Regions from separate parts of the Homo sapiens genome. Here regions 1, 3 and 4 are each linked to region 2. The links are contacts of gene promoters, found by promoter capture Hi-C in blood cells and fetal thymus (Javierre and others, 2016). All regions are on one chromosome and are shown on one strand. Each heading gives the region's core, a stretch centred on a gene start or on the middle of the fragment in contact. The rest is flanking DNA. Distances are from core to core; before and after follow the strand shown.

Region 1 (3,016 bases), core at 20-2,519, 170 kb before region 2:
TCCCCAGGTCCCCATGTCCTGAGCCTGTCCCCACAACATGGCTCACATTGTCGTCGGTGGTGAGGTCCCCCTCACTAGCCTGGATGGCAAAGGCGATGAGGCAGATGGCGGCGGCAACCCACATGAGGCACTGCAGGCCCCCGGCCAGCTGCCTCGCGAACTTGACGTACTCTGGGGTGCCCCGTGGTGGCCGCAGTGCGTTGGGCCCATCCCGCAGCAGCAGCTCAGCAGCCAGGCTCGCAGAGAGGCCCTGGGACAGAGGGGCAGGGCGAGGCGGTCCTGGGGGCTTTCCTCCACATGCACACCCCGTGGAAAGCCCCCTGCTTCAGTTTCCCTTCTCCAGCTTGGTCTGTCCTGCTCCTTCTCATCTCTTTGTCTCTTGGTTCCTGCCCCCACCCCATCTCTCCCTCCCTCCTTCATCTCTCCCTTTGTCTCTCTCTCCTCGCTCCCCTTTCTATGTGTCTCTCTCCTGCTGCTCTCTCCTTATTTGTCTCTGCCTTCTCTGTCTTGCTGTCTCTTTTCAGCTACTCCTCTCTCCGTCTCTGTGTGTCACCCTTTCTCTCTAATGCTTTCTCCCTTCTCTCCCTCTCCCTCTCTCTCCCTCTCTCCATCTCCCTCCCTCTCTCCTCCCCTCCCTCCATCCTTTCCTCTCTCCCTCCCTCCCTCTTTCCTTTTCTGCCTCCCTCCCTCTCTCTATTTCTCCATATCTTCCTCTCTTCATCTCTCCCTCTCTCTCCCTCTCTCCATCTCCCTCCTTCCATCTCCCTCTCCCTCCCTCTCTCCTCCTCCCCTTTCTGTACGCTCCCAGTCTCCAGCTCACCTTGGTGGCACTGGTCTGGTATTTCTGTTCCAGCTCCGCCACTGACAGCTGGTGGTCGTTCTGTGTGGTGGGGTGGGGCAGGGTGCTTGCTCTGGGCTCTCCTGGCCCCCTCCCCGCCCACTGCCTGGTTCCCAGCCTACCCTCCAGCTCCCGCCCCTCCCCAGTCAGAGCTCACAATCTCCATCTCCTTCTTCATGTTCTCCAGCTTCTCCTTCCTCTTGCCACCCCCGCCACCCGCCTTCTTCTTCTTGCTCATCTTGGCAGCCATGTCCCCGCCAGGGCCAGGACCCAGCTCCACCGAGTAGAGCTCATAGTTCTCCTGGGAATGGACAGGATGGAGGGAGGGAGAACTCAGATTCCACTGCAACCCCTGTCCCCACTGCACCCCGGACCCCTGGGCCCCACTCACGGCCTTCCCCATGGTGCCCGGTGCCTGTGCTCCCACCCAACAGAGCCTGGGCCCGGACCAGTCCTGATATACCCAGGGAGGGCGGTGGGGTGGAGCAGAACCGCCCGACCACAGCTGATTACAGGCTCCTTGGGGTGACCTCTAGGCCTGGGCACCTCAGGCATTCCCTCCTGGGCTGGCCCCCCCCTCCCCTGCCCAGATCCCCCCATGTCAACCTGCCCTGAGATCAGGGAGCCCCTGGGAACCGCTGCAGCAACAAGAAGAGCAAACATAAGGTGCTCATTATGCGCTGGGCATTGTGCTGACGGCTTCCATGTGCTAACTTATTTAACCTTCCAATAACCCTTTGAGGGGACAAGACCCTTTACAGATGGGGAAACTGAGGCATGGAGGGGTTGAGTCATTCTCCTATGGCTCCATCACAGGCTAGGACATAATGGAGTGAGAACCAGATCAGCTGGCTGCAGAGTGTCCTCTTTCAGTCTAAATAGCACGTGCCTGATCAACTGGAAGAGGAGGGTGCTCCCACACTCTTTTTTTTTTTCTTTTTTTTTTTGAGATGGAGTGTCACTCTGACACCCAGGTTGGAGTGCAGTGGTGCAATCTCAGCTCGCTGCAACCTCCGCCTCCCGGGTTCAAGTGATTCTCCTGCCTCAGCCTCTTGAGTAGCTGGGACTACAGGCACATGCCACCACACCCAGCTAATTTTTGTACTTTTAGTAGAGACGGGGTTTCACCAGGTTGGCCAGGCTGGTCTCGAACTCCTGACCTCAGGTGATCCACCCGCCTTGGCCTCCCAAAGTGCTGGGATTACAGGCGTGAGCCACCATGCCCTGCCATGCTTACAACACTCTCTATGGTGGCTGAATGTTTACTGAACTCTGACTATTCACTATGGGCTGGGTGTGCTCTGTGTGTCACTCAAATGGTTTCCTTAGCATCTAACAGCAGCCCTGTAAAGCAATATTCTCTTCTTAGCCCCCATCAGGGACTTTGCAGAAGATTTCAACGTCTAAGAATTAGGGACAGGGTTCCAGCCCGGGCTTGACCCCAGGGCTTGACCCCAGAGCCTAGCTCTTCTATGGCACCACCAATGGAAAAACCCAAACTTCACTGCAGCAGCACCACACACATGCCAGGCTCTGCACGTGTGACCTCACGGGTCTTTGCAAAAAACCCTGTGCAGGCAGAACTATCATTCCTGTTGTGCAGAGGGGGAAACTGAGGCTCACAGGGACTCACATATCCAGCTACAGACTTTACAGCTCTCAACCATTCCCCGTCCCTACCCTAGATGGGGAAACCAAGGTGCAACATGGGGAAAGGATGTGTCCAAGGGTCTTGGCTTGATCTTGGTGTTGGGTGACAGATGCCAGGAGGCCTGGGGACTCCCTCCTCATCCCTCAGGTAGGGACCTCCATGGGCAGCAGCAGCGAGGGGCTGGGCCAGTGGAATGGTGGGGACCTTGGTATGTTATGGGGTGAGCGTGTCTCCAGGAGCAGGTGAGCGTGCGCCTGATAAGATAACTGCCCTGGCAATGTCCTTCTCTACTGGGGCAGGTCACCTGGGAAACTCAAAGCTGTTGGGCAGCCAGAGCTCCTCCCCGCACCCACACGGCTGGTCATCCCCAGCCTGCTAGAAGAAACCTCCAAAGAAGAGGTGGCGTGGGGCCACATGCTGTCCTTGTAGTGAATCTACTCGCTCACTGGGCTCCCATCAGCTCTGAGCCATGTATGTCAAACAGCTTGTGTCACCCCCTGCTTACAACCCTCCAAAGCCTTCCCTTC
Region 2 (3,061 bases), core at 1-2,500:
CTCGGACTGCGAGGGACGGCTCTTCCCCATTGGCTACCAGTGAGCGGTCGGGGTGATCCATGGGGCCAGGGGACTCCATAGCTGGATCCCATTTCCCAAGCATCCTAACCGTCTTATCCCACATGCCAGGTGCTCCCGTCTGTACTGGAGCACAGTGGATGCTCGGAGGCGCTGCTGGTATCGGTGCCGAATTCTGGAGTATCGGCCATGGGGGCCGAGGGAAGAGCCAGCTCACCTGGAGGCTGCAGAGGAGAACCAGACCATTGTGCACAGCCCCGCCCCTTCCTCAGGTGTGGCTTTGGCTCTGTCTTCTTCCTGAATACCGCTCTCCCTAAACAAACCTACAGATCTCTGTTCCCCGCTCCCTTTTGGAAAGTCCAGGAGGCTTGCTTTTGCTTCAGTTGCTGTAATGTAACGGCAGCTCGCTTACTGCCATGCCTTGTGTGCCAGGGGCTGTGCCCGGCTTTTCATGGGAAGTGAGGTGGGGAGAGCGGCACGCTGCCTACTTGAGGTGGGGTACTGGCTTTTGGACGACTGCAGGGAGTAGAGTGCTTACAGCTCCCTAACTTGGGGCACTGTGCTCATGGAGCGCTCTCCAGTGTCGCCATACTACACCTTGAAGGGGACAGTGGCTGAACACAGTAACATGCTAGGGAAGCTGGAATTGGAACTGCATCTGCTCAGCTCCCAAACCGGCCCCCTTACAGCCACACTGGCTGTGGGATGTGGCTGAGAGCTGGATGGCACAGGGCAAAGAATGGGCTTGGAGATGGGGGAGAGGTTATTGTGGGCAGAGCAGGAGGCAGAAGAGATTTGGATGGTAGGAAGGGCTTTATTCCAGGTTGGAGCATGACAAGAAGTGGACAGAGGAGGAGGGTACACCCATCCCGTCTGGAAACCAGGGAGTTTTGGGTGGAGGAGGGAGATCAGTTTGCAGAGGTTGGGTGGAGCCAGGTAATGGAGAGCCTCCGGGCCGGGGCGGGCGGGAGCGTCTGATGTGGCTTGGATGCACCAGGCAAGTAAGAAAGTGGTAGGACTGGCCGTGCTGGAGGGAGGGCAGTTCCCCATGGCGTGCAAAGCCTGCAGCAGAGGCAGAGAGGAGATGGCAAGGAGCGAGTGGGGAGAGGCCCTGAAGGCCCCCTGGCCCAGGTGTGTGCAGGTTTTGCCAACTCCACGGTGGGTTTAGCCTGGGTGGTCACTGGAAACTGGGGCCTGTTGTGACTGGGTCAGGGTCGGGGACCTGGGAGGCATAGTGGCTCAGGATGAGAGCATGTGGGCAGGCTTTGACACAGAGCCCCTACCACCCCAATGCCATTTCTCGCCTCTTCAGAGCCCCCAGGTGGTGAGGACCCCCCACTGGACACAGATGTTCTTGTCCCTGGAGCTCCTGAGCGCCACTCGCCCATTCAGAACCTGGACCCTCCACTGCGGCCAGATTCAGGCAGCGCCCCTCCTCCAGCCCCCCGTTCTTTTTCGGGGGCTCGAATCAAAGTGCCCAACTACTCGCCATCCCGGAGGCCCTTGGGGGGTGTCTCCTTTGGCCCCCTGCCCTCCCCTGGTGAGCACCGGGCATGTGGGGGTTGGGGGTGGAGCCGCGGAGGTGGGAGCTGCTGGTAACACCAACCCTCCCCCCACAGGAAGTCCATCTTCACTGACCCACCACATCCCCACAGTGGGAGACCCGGACTTCCCAGCTCCCCCCAGACGTTCCCGTCGTCCCAGCCCTTTGGCTCCCAGGCCGCCTCCATCACGGTGGGCCTCCCCTCCTCTAAAAACCTCCCCTCAGCTCAGGGTGCCCCCTCCTACCTCAGTCGTCACAGCCCTCACACCTACCTCAGGGGAGCTGGCTCCCCCTGGCCCGGCCCCATCTCCACCACCCCCTGAAGACCTGGGCCCAGACTTCGAGGACATGGAGGTGGTGTCAGGACTGAGTGCTGCTGACCTGGACTTCGCGGCCAGCCTGCTGGGGACTGAGCCCTTCCAGGAAGAGATTGTAGCCGCTGGGGCCATGGGGAGCAGCCACGGGGGCCCGGGGGACAGCTCCGAGGAGGAGTCCAGCCCCACCTCCCGCTACATCCACTTCCCTGTGACTGTGGTGTCCGCCCCTGGTCTGGCCCCCAGCGCTACCCCTGGAGCCCCCCGCATTGAACAGCTGGACGGCGTGGACGACGGCACTGACAGTGAGGCTGAGGCGGTGCAGCAGCCTCGGGGCCAGGGCACGCCTCCTTCGGGGCCAGGAGTAGTCCGGGCAGGGGTCCTTGGGGCTGCAGGGGACAGGGCCCGGCCTCCTGAGGACCTGCCATCGGAAATTGTGGATTTTGTGTTGAAGAACCTAGGGGGTCCTGGGGATGGAGGTGCTGGCCCTAGAGAGGAGTCACTCCCCCCGGCGCCTCCCCTGGCTAATGGCAGCCAGCCCTCCCAAGGCCTGACCGCCAGCCCAGCTGACCCCACCCGCACATTTGCCTGGCTCCCAGGGGCCCCAGGGGTCCGGGTGTTAAGCCTTGGCCCTGCCCCTGAGCCCCCCAAACCCGCCACATCCAAAATCATACTTGTCAACAAGCTGGGGCAAGTATTTGTGAAGATGGCTGGGGAGGGTGAACCTGTCCCACCCCCAGTGAAGCAGCCACCTTTGCCCCCCACCATTTCCCCCACGGCTCCCACCTCCTGGACTCTGCCCCCAGGCCCCCTCCTCGGCGTGCTGCCCGTGGTCGGAGTGGTCCGCCCTGCCCCGCCCCCGCCACCCCCTCCCCTGACGCTGGTGCTGAGCAGTGGGCCAGCCAGCCCGCCCCGCCAGGCCATCCGCGTCAAGAGGGTGTCCACTTTCTCCGGCCGGTCCCCGCCAGCACCTCCCCCATACAAAGCCCCCCGGCTGGATGAAGATGGAGAGGCCTCAGAGGATACCCCTCAGGTTCCAGGGCTTGGCAGTGGCGGGTGAGTGCGGGTGCTGAGGCTGGCAGAGCAGGCAAGGGGGCAGATGGGCGGGAGATGCGGCTCATCCTTCTCGGGCTCGCCCTCCCAGGTTTAGCCGTGTGAGGATGAAAACCCCCACAGTGCGTGGGGT
Region 3 (2,943 bases), core at 444-2,943, 200 kb after region 2:
AAGTCCCTTATAGACTGAATTCCTCTTTATGTCTCTAAATACATTTGTCTCTTTGGTACACATCTGCGGTGCTACATGCCCTCAACCCACCAGGTTTTAGCATAGCTGTTGTGGTAGACAGTTCCGTGTGCAGTGCAGATAGCCCTGGTTCAGCCCAGCTGTTCTCAAAATGTGGTCCCTGACCAGGTGTAGTGGCTCACACCTGTAATCACAACACTTTGGGAGGCCTGGGAGGGAGGATTGCCTGAGGCCAAGAGTTCAAGACCAGCCTGGGCAGCATATTGAGACCCTGTCTCTACAAGAAATTTTAAAAATTAGCTGGATATGGCGATGCATGCCTGTAGTCTCAGTTACTCTGGAGCCTGAGGTGGGAGGATTGCTTGAGCCCAGGAATTTGAGGTTGCAGTCAATTATGATTGCACCAATGTACTGGGTGACAAAGCAAGACCCTGTCTCAAAAAAAAAAGTATGGTCTTTGAAAAGTCACATTAGCATCACCTGGGTACTCGTTAAAAATGCAAATGTTTGGGTCCCACCTCAGACCCACTGAACCAGAAACTCTGAGGTTGGGACCTGGAGATCTATGGTGCCCCCGGGTGATCCTGGTGGGCTGCACTGCAAGGACACCTGGCCTGGCTCCTGCAAGGCAAGGCATCCCTCTCTGCTTTTCTTTCTTTCTTTCTTTCTTTTAAAGACAGAGTCTCACTCTGTCACCCAGGCTGGAGTGCAATGGCTGGATCTCAGATCACTACAATCTCCACCTCCCGGGTTCAAGCAATTCTCTTGCCTCAGCCTCCCGAGTAGCTGGGATTACGGGCGTCCGCCACCACACCCGGCTAATTTTTGTATTTTTAGTAGAGACGGGGTTTCTCCATGTTGGCCAGGCTGGTCTCCAACGCCTGATCTCAAAAGATCCGCCCGCCTTGGCCTCCCAACGAGCCGGGATTACAGGCGTGAGCCACCGCCCCCGGCTGTCAGTGTGTCTTGAGGTCTTTCCCTAATCCCAGATGGCACAAGTTTTCCCTCTTGCAGGCAGAGAAAGGAGCCTTGGGAAGGAGCCCCTCTGGCCTGAAAGATCAAGCCTATTGCTGGGCATGGCCAGGTAAGGAAACTCCAACCGTGGAAAGGACATTCCAGGGAGGTGGTGCTGAGATAAGGGGGGCAGAAAGAGACAGGTTTGGGGGGCCAGTGGCTCTGGAATGAAGCGCTACACTCAAGGCTAGGAATAGTTACTGAATGCACATACACACATACCATTCTCACAGCCCAGGTGCTGCGTCTTAGAGCGTGTGAGTGTGTATGTGTGTGTCTGTGTGTGCGCGCGCACGCACGTCTCTATCTCTGTTTCTGTCTTTCTCTGACTTGTCCTTATCTCTTGTCTCTCCATCACTCTCTGTGTCTCGCTGTCTCTGTGCATTTCCATGTCTCGAATATGTGTGTGTTTCAATCTGTCTCTCTGCCTCTTTCCATTTTCTCCTCTCTATCCATCAATCTAAGCCTGCCCATCTTTTTGTCTGCCTTTCTGTATCTCCGTTCTTCTCTGTCTCTCTGTCTCAGTCTCTCTGTATCCAGGGATTCTCTTTCCCAGCAGCGCCAGTGCGACTCCATGGGAGGTGGGGCCGGGGCGCGTCTTTGAGAGAAGGGGCGGGTGCCTACGCCTTTAAGCGCGGGTGCGCGCGGAGCCTGCGCCTTTAAGCGCCGGTGCGCGCGCTGCCCTGGGTTGCCGGCGAGGAGGCCGCGGGAGCGCCTGGACCCGGCCCGCCCAGCCCGGCCCCCGCCCGGCCCCCGCCTCGGCCCCGGCGGGGGAGGGGTCTCTGAGCGCGGCCCCTCCCCCCTGCGCCCCCGCCTGCGCTGCGGTGCCCCCATCCCGCGTGTCCCAGTCTGTCTGACCGTCCCTCCGCTCCCAGGCCTCGCCCCACCCGGCCCTGGGGCTGCCCGGTCGCCCCCCTCCCCACCGCAGCCGGTCCCCTCCCTCCCAGTCAGCCTCCGCCGCAGCCCAGGAAGCCAGCCGGGACGCCGCCGCCCCGGACCCCGCGCCCTAACCTCCACCTCGGGGGCCTGCACCCCCAGATTGAATCGGGAATTCCGGAAACCCGAGCCTGGAACCCTGATCTGGGACCAGCACCCCGAGATCCGGCCGTGGAACCCCAAGATCTGGAGCCTGAACCCCAGTATATGGGGCTGGAATCTCAACATCGGTCACTGGGACCTCAATATTTGGAGCCGGAACCCCACAATTTGGAACACAGACCCCAATATTTGGAGCAGAACCCCAAGATTTGACATCTAAAACCTCAAGCCTGGAGCTGAACTCTGAATTCTGGGCCTGGGACCTTGAAATCTGGGACTGGATTTCCAGTACTGTACCCTGGAACCCACTCTTGGGGACCTGAACCCTGGGATTCAGGCCTCAAATTCCAAGATCTGGACTGTGGGATTCCAAGGGGCCTGAACCCGAGTTTGGGCCTGAAGTCCTTGCTGCAGACCTGAGTGCTTAAATCTGGGGCTTGAGACCTCCCAATCTTGACTCAGCACCCCAATATCTGAATGCAGAACCCCGGGATCGGATCTCAGACTCTAAACCCCACCGTTTGGCTGCTTAGCATCCCAAGACTGGACCTGGGAGACCCTGACCCTGAACAACCCAAACTGGACCCGTAAAACTGGACCCTAGAGGCCCAATATTTAGGGGTCTGGAACCCCGAGTATTAAGGTCTGGAGACTCCGTTGCCACAGATTTGAGCCGAGTCAGGACACAGTCCCTCTACAGAAGCCTTGGGGACAGGAAAAGCATGACCAGATGCTCCCTCCAGAGCCCTGACCTCTGACTCCCCTGGAGCTAGGACTCTGCTCCCTGGGGCTGCTTCTAGCTCAGGTAAGGCTGCTGAAACCTCAAGGTGGGGACGGGCTGGGAGGAGCATTGTGGCTGCGGGTTACGGTACC
Region 4 (3,052 bases), core at 553-3,052, 190 kb before region 2:
TGAGGTAGGGGCTGAGGAGAGGAGACCCTGGGAGGAGCCCTCTGGGAAGGGACATGATTTCCACTTGCCAGGGAGCTGCTCTCAATGTGCCAAGTCAGAAACTGCAGGGCAGGAAGGGAGATCTCCCTGCCTCAGGGCCTTTGCACTTGCTGTTCCTTTAGTCTGGAATGCTTCCCTTGCCAGGTGACCATACAGTCTGTCCTTACTTCCTCCAAGTCTCTGGAGGAACCTCCCTCTTCAGCAAGGCACCCCCTCAAAATATGTTCTTTTTGTGGCCATATTCCTCACCTGAAATTTCATTTCATAGTCACTGTTGGCCCCAGTGGTGTGTGCACTCCAAGAAAACAGGGATTTAGGGGCTGCCTTTTCACTTTTGTGGCTCCAACCTGGCATACAGCAGGTGACTAATACATGCTTAGTGAACAAAAGACAACAGCTCCCATTTTTTTCAATACTTGCTCAGGGCCAGGCCATGGCCAGATGCCTTCTCTGTGAGGAGTGGATGCCATGGTCATGGTGGACCCCTGTACATCCACCTTGGTGCTGTCTCCCTGCATTAACTCCTGCAGGTCCACTTTCCCACAGTCACTGGGATCTTTTGTTTTAATGGAATCACATTGCATCACCCGTTTTCAGGATTGAAAACACTCCTGTGGCCTTTCATGACACTAGGGCTAAAACCCTCAGGTCCTCCCTTCCTGCAGCTCCTTCTACCTCAGACACTGTGCTGAGGGCCCCAGCCGGTCAGATCTTTCTAGTCATCTAGACCCAGGCTCATGGCCACCCCTCAGAGAGGCCCTCCATGCTGGCCCATTCCAAACGCTTGCATTATTCCTAGGAAAGGGATGTACTGGTACAGCATGAGGGTGTTTGTGACCTGTGCCCTTTGGCCAGACCCTGACACAGTGCCTTGGTCATACCCTGCACTTGGTCATACCCTCCAGTCCAGAGACTGGACACAGTAGGGCTACATCAAATATTATAGATGAATGCATGGATGGGCGATAGAGTTAAGAGTCGGGGCCTCAGCTCCTGGAGGTCCTTGCTCTGCCGGACACACTTATCTTTGAAATTCTGACTTCCAGGTCGTCTCTACGGACTTCCTCGGTGATACCCACTCGTCCATCTTCGATGCTAAGGCCGGCATTGCGCTCAATGACAATTTCGTGAAGCTCATTTCATGGTAAGGGGGAAGGAGCTGGAGACTTAGAGGGAGGGGAACTAAGGGGTGGTCGGAAGGAACCCCCTTGAACCTCCCGACCCCTCCTCCACAGGTACGACAACGAATATGGCTACAGTCACCGGGTGGTCGACCTCCTCCGCTACATGTTCAGCCGAGACAAGTGAAACGGGAAGGTCCTTTCTTTCCTTCCCAGGGGCCGGGGCCGGAACATGTGCCTCCCGTTCCAGCATCTGGCTGCCCGGGGGAGGAAGGACACCCGGGGCGGGCGCCCCACGCCGATGGGTCCATGGTGAAATAAAAAACAGTGCTCACGGCTGCGTCCCGTATCTCTGCGCCGGTCAGGGCGGGTTCTGATCCGGGTTTGAGGCCCGCCCCACCCTTACTCGATCGCCTGCGCCCACGGGCGAGGGGTCGCGCTCGACTCCAAGCCGGGTTCCACTTCAGGAGACCGGGACCGCGATGGCAGCGGTAGAGGCCCCGCATGGCCGGAAGTCACTCCCCAAAGCGCTGGGCCGGCAGCGGTGGGACCCAGGGCCGGCCACGGGCTCTCTGACGTCACTGGGCGCGACGCCCCGCGCCGGGACTACTGCTCCCAGAAGGTCGCGCGCGGGCCCCCGCCAGTCAGGTGGGTGCCAGGCCCTGGCCGTGGCGAAAGAGCCGGCGGAGCCGGAGACCCGCTCCCGGAGACGCCGCCTCGCGATCCCCGCGCGGGCGGGACCGGGCGGCCGGCATCATGACCCTGTTTCACTTCGGGAACTGCTTCGCTCTTGCCTACTTCCCCTACTTCATCACCTACAAGTGCAGCGGCCTGTGAGTGCGGGAAGGGCGCGGGGCGGAGAGGGCGCGGGGCCCGGGCCGACCCTCACCTCCCGCTTCTCCAGGTCCGAGTACAACGCCTTCTGGAAATGCGTCCAGGCTGGAGTCACCTACCTCTTTGTCCAACTCTGCAAGGTGAGGGCCACCGGGAAGCCACGTGTTCTGGCCCCCAGGCTCTGCAGACCCAGGGACCCGCCCCCGTTGCCTATCCGCGCCCCCGCCGCCCCACGGTGGGACCGCCCTCGGGACTCCGCACTGGGAGGCGTCAGGATACCTAGAGAGGATGGACTTTAAAGAGGGCACGACCTGAGAAGAGACCTAGAAGCAACTTTTGCGTAGCACTTAGTAAAACTGAGAAAACCTCAGTAGTGTGGTTGGCTAACAGGTTTTTTTTGGTGCGGTTAAGAGTGATCACTGATTCCGTACGTGCTGCTAACACTGCCCAAGGAGCAGCACCTTCAGACCTGACTCAGATGCCCTGTGATCACCCAGAACTCAAACTTCCAGCCCCCTCGGGGACCCGGGGACCTATCCTCTATCTCCCCGATTCCTGTAATTTTGCCACCATCTGGTGGTTCCTCTTCCAGATGGGCCCCCAGAACCTGTCCTGCCCTCTTCCTACCCACGAACTTCCCACAAATCCCACGTGGTTTATCTTGATCCCCTCACCTTGAAGTGACCTCTTTCTGCTTTCTGTTCTCAGATGCTGTTCTTGGCCACTTTCTTTCCCACCTGGGAAGGCGGCATCTATGACTTCATTGGGGTGAGAGGGGCCAGGGAAGGGAAGGGAGTTCAGGAATGGGGCTCCCTGTCCCCCTGTGCTTACTTAAGCCTCAACCTGACCCGCAGGAGTTCATGAAGGCCAGCGTGGATGTGGCAGACCTGATAGGTCTAAACCTTGTCATGTCCCGGAATGCCGGCAAGGGAGAGTACAAGATCATGGTTGCTGCCCTGGGCTGGGCCACTGCTGAGCTTATTATGTCCCGGTGCGTACAGCAGCCTGGAGCCCAGACCCCTGAGAAGGGACACCTGGGTTCCACGGGGGTGCTGGAG

Evidence for each region. Contacts are between HindIII fragments. The CHiCAGO score rates a contact against its expected background, and 5 or more counts as called.
Region 1: a contact is called between the fragment with the promoter of ATP4A here and a fragment that was not itself captured in region 2, in 1 of 17 cell types (neutrophils). The highest score is 5.8, in neutrophils.
Region 3: the fragment with the promoter of LRFN3 here is called in contact with a fragment that was not itself captured in region 2 in 2 of 17 cell types (neutrophils and M0 macrophages); the score reaches 8.7 in neutrophils.
Region 4: a contact is called between the fragment with the promoter of TMEM147 here and a fragment that was not itself captured in region 2, in 4 of 17 cell types (neutrophils, monocytes, M0 macrophages and 1 more). The highest score is 9.7, in neutrophils.

The regions. Positions count from the first base shown.
Region 1 is chr19:35,562,389-35,565,404 of GRCh38, forward strand. ATP4A (ATPase H+/K+ transporting subunit alpha) reads right to left here and starts at 1,270. Exons shown (of 22, transcript NM_000704.3): 1 at 1,230-1,270; 2 at 996-1,139; 3 at 821-880; 4 at 47-250. The coding sequence starts at 1,241. RefSeq lists an enhancer at 2,425-2,926. The HindIII fragment of the contact is 9,853 bases long and covers 1-3,016 here.
Region 2 is chr19:35,730,578-35,733,638 of GRCh38, forward strand. It overlaps KMT2B (lysine methyltransferase 2B), which reads left to right. Exons shown (of 37, transcript NM_014727.3): 25 at 1-39; 26 at 130-290; 27 at 1,331-1,558; 28 at 1,638-2,931; 29 at 3,020-3,061. Among named protein-coding and RNA genes, the nearest start is that of IGFLR1, 10 kb to the right of the region's middle. The HindIII fragment of the contact is 6,974 bases long and covers 1-3,061 here.
Region 3 is chr19:35,934,681-35,937,623 of GRCh38, forward strand. LRFN3 (leucine rich repeat and fibronectin type III domain containing 3) reads left to right here and starts at 1,694. Exons shown (of 3, transcript NM_024509.2): 1 at 1,694-2,875. The HindIII fragment of the contact is 21,793 bases long and covers 1-2,943 here.
Region 4 is chr19:35,543,824-35,546,875 of GRCh38, forward strand. It overlaps TMEM147 (transmembrane protein 147), which reads left to right and starts at 1,803. Exons shown (of 7, transcript NM_032635.4): 1 at 1,803-1,993; 2 at 2,065-2,134; 3 at 2,703-2,762; 4 at 2,849-2,985. The coding sequence starts at 1,917. It overlaps GAPDHS (glyceraldehyde-3-phosphate dehydrogenase, spermatogenic), which reads left to right. Exons shown (of 11, transcript NM_014364.5): 9 at 1-4; 10 at 1,086-1,183; 11 at 1,275-1,496. The coding sequence ends at 1,347. TMEM147-AS1 (TMEM147 antisense RNA 1) reads right to left here and starts at 2,206. Exons shown (of 4, transcript NR_038396.1): 1 at 2,114-2,206. RefSeq lists an enhancer at 1,420-2,112 and a silencer at 1,805-2,384. The HindIII fragment of the contact is 5,741 bases long and covers 1-3,052 here.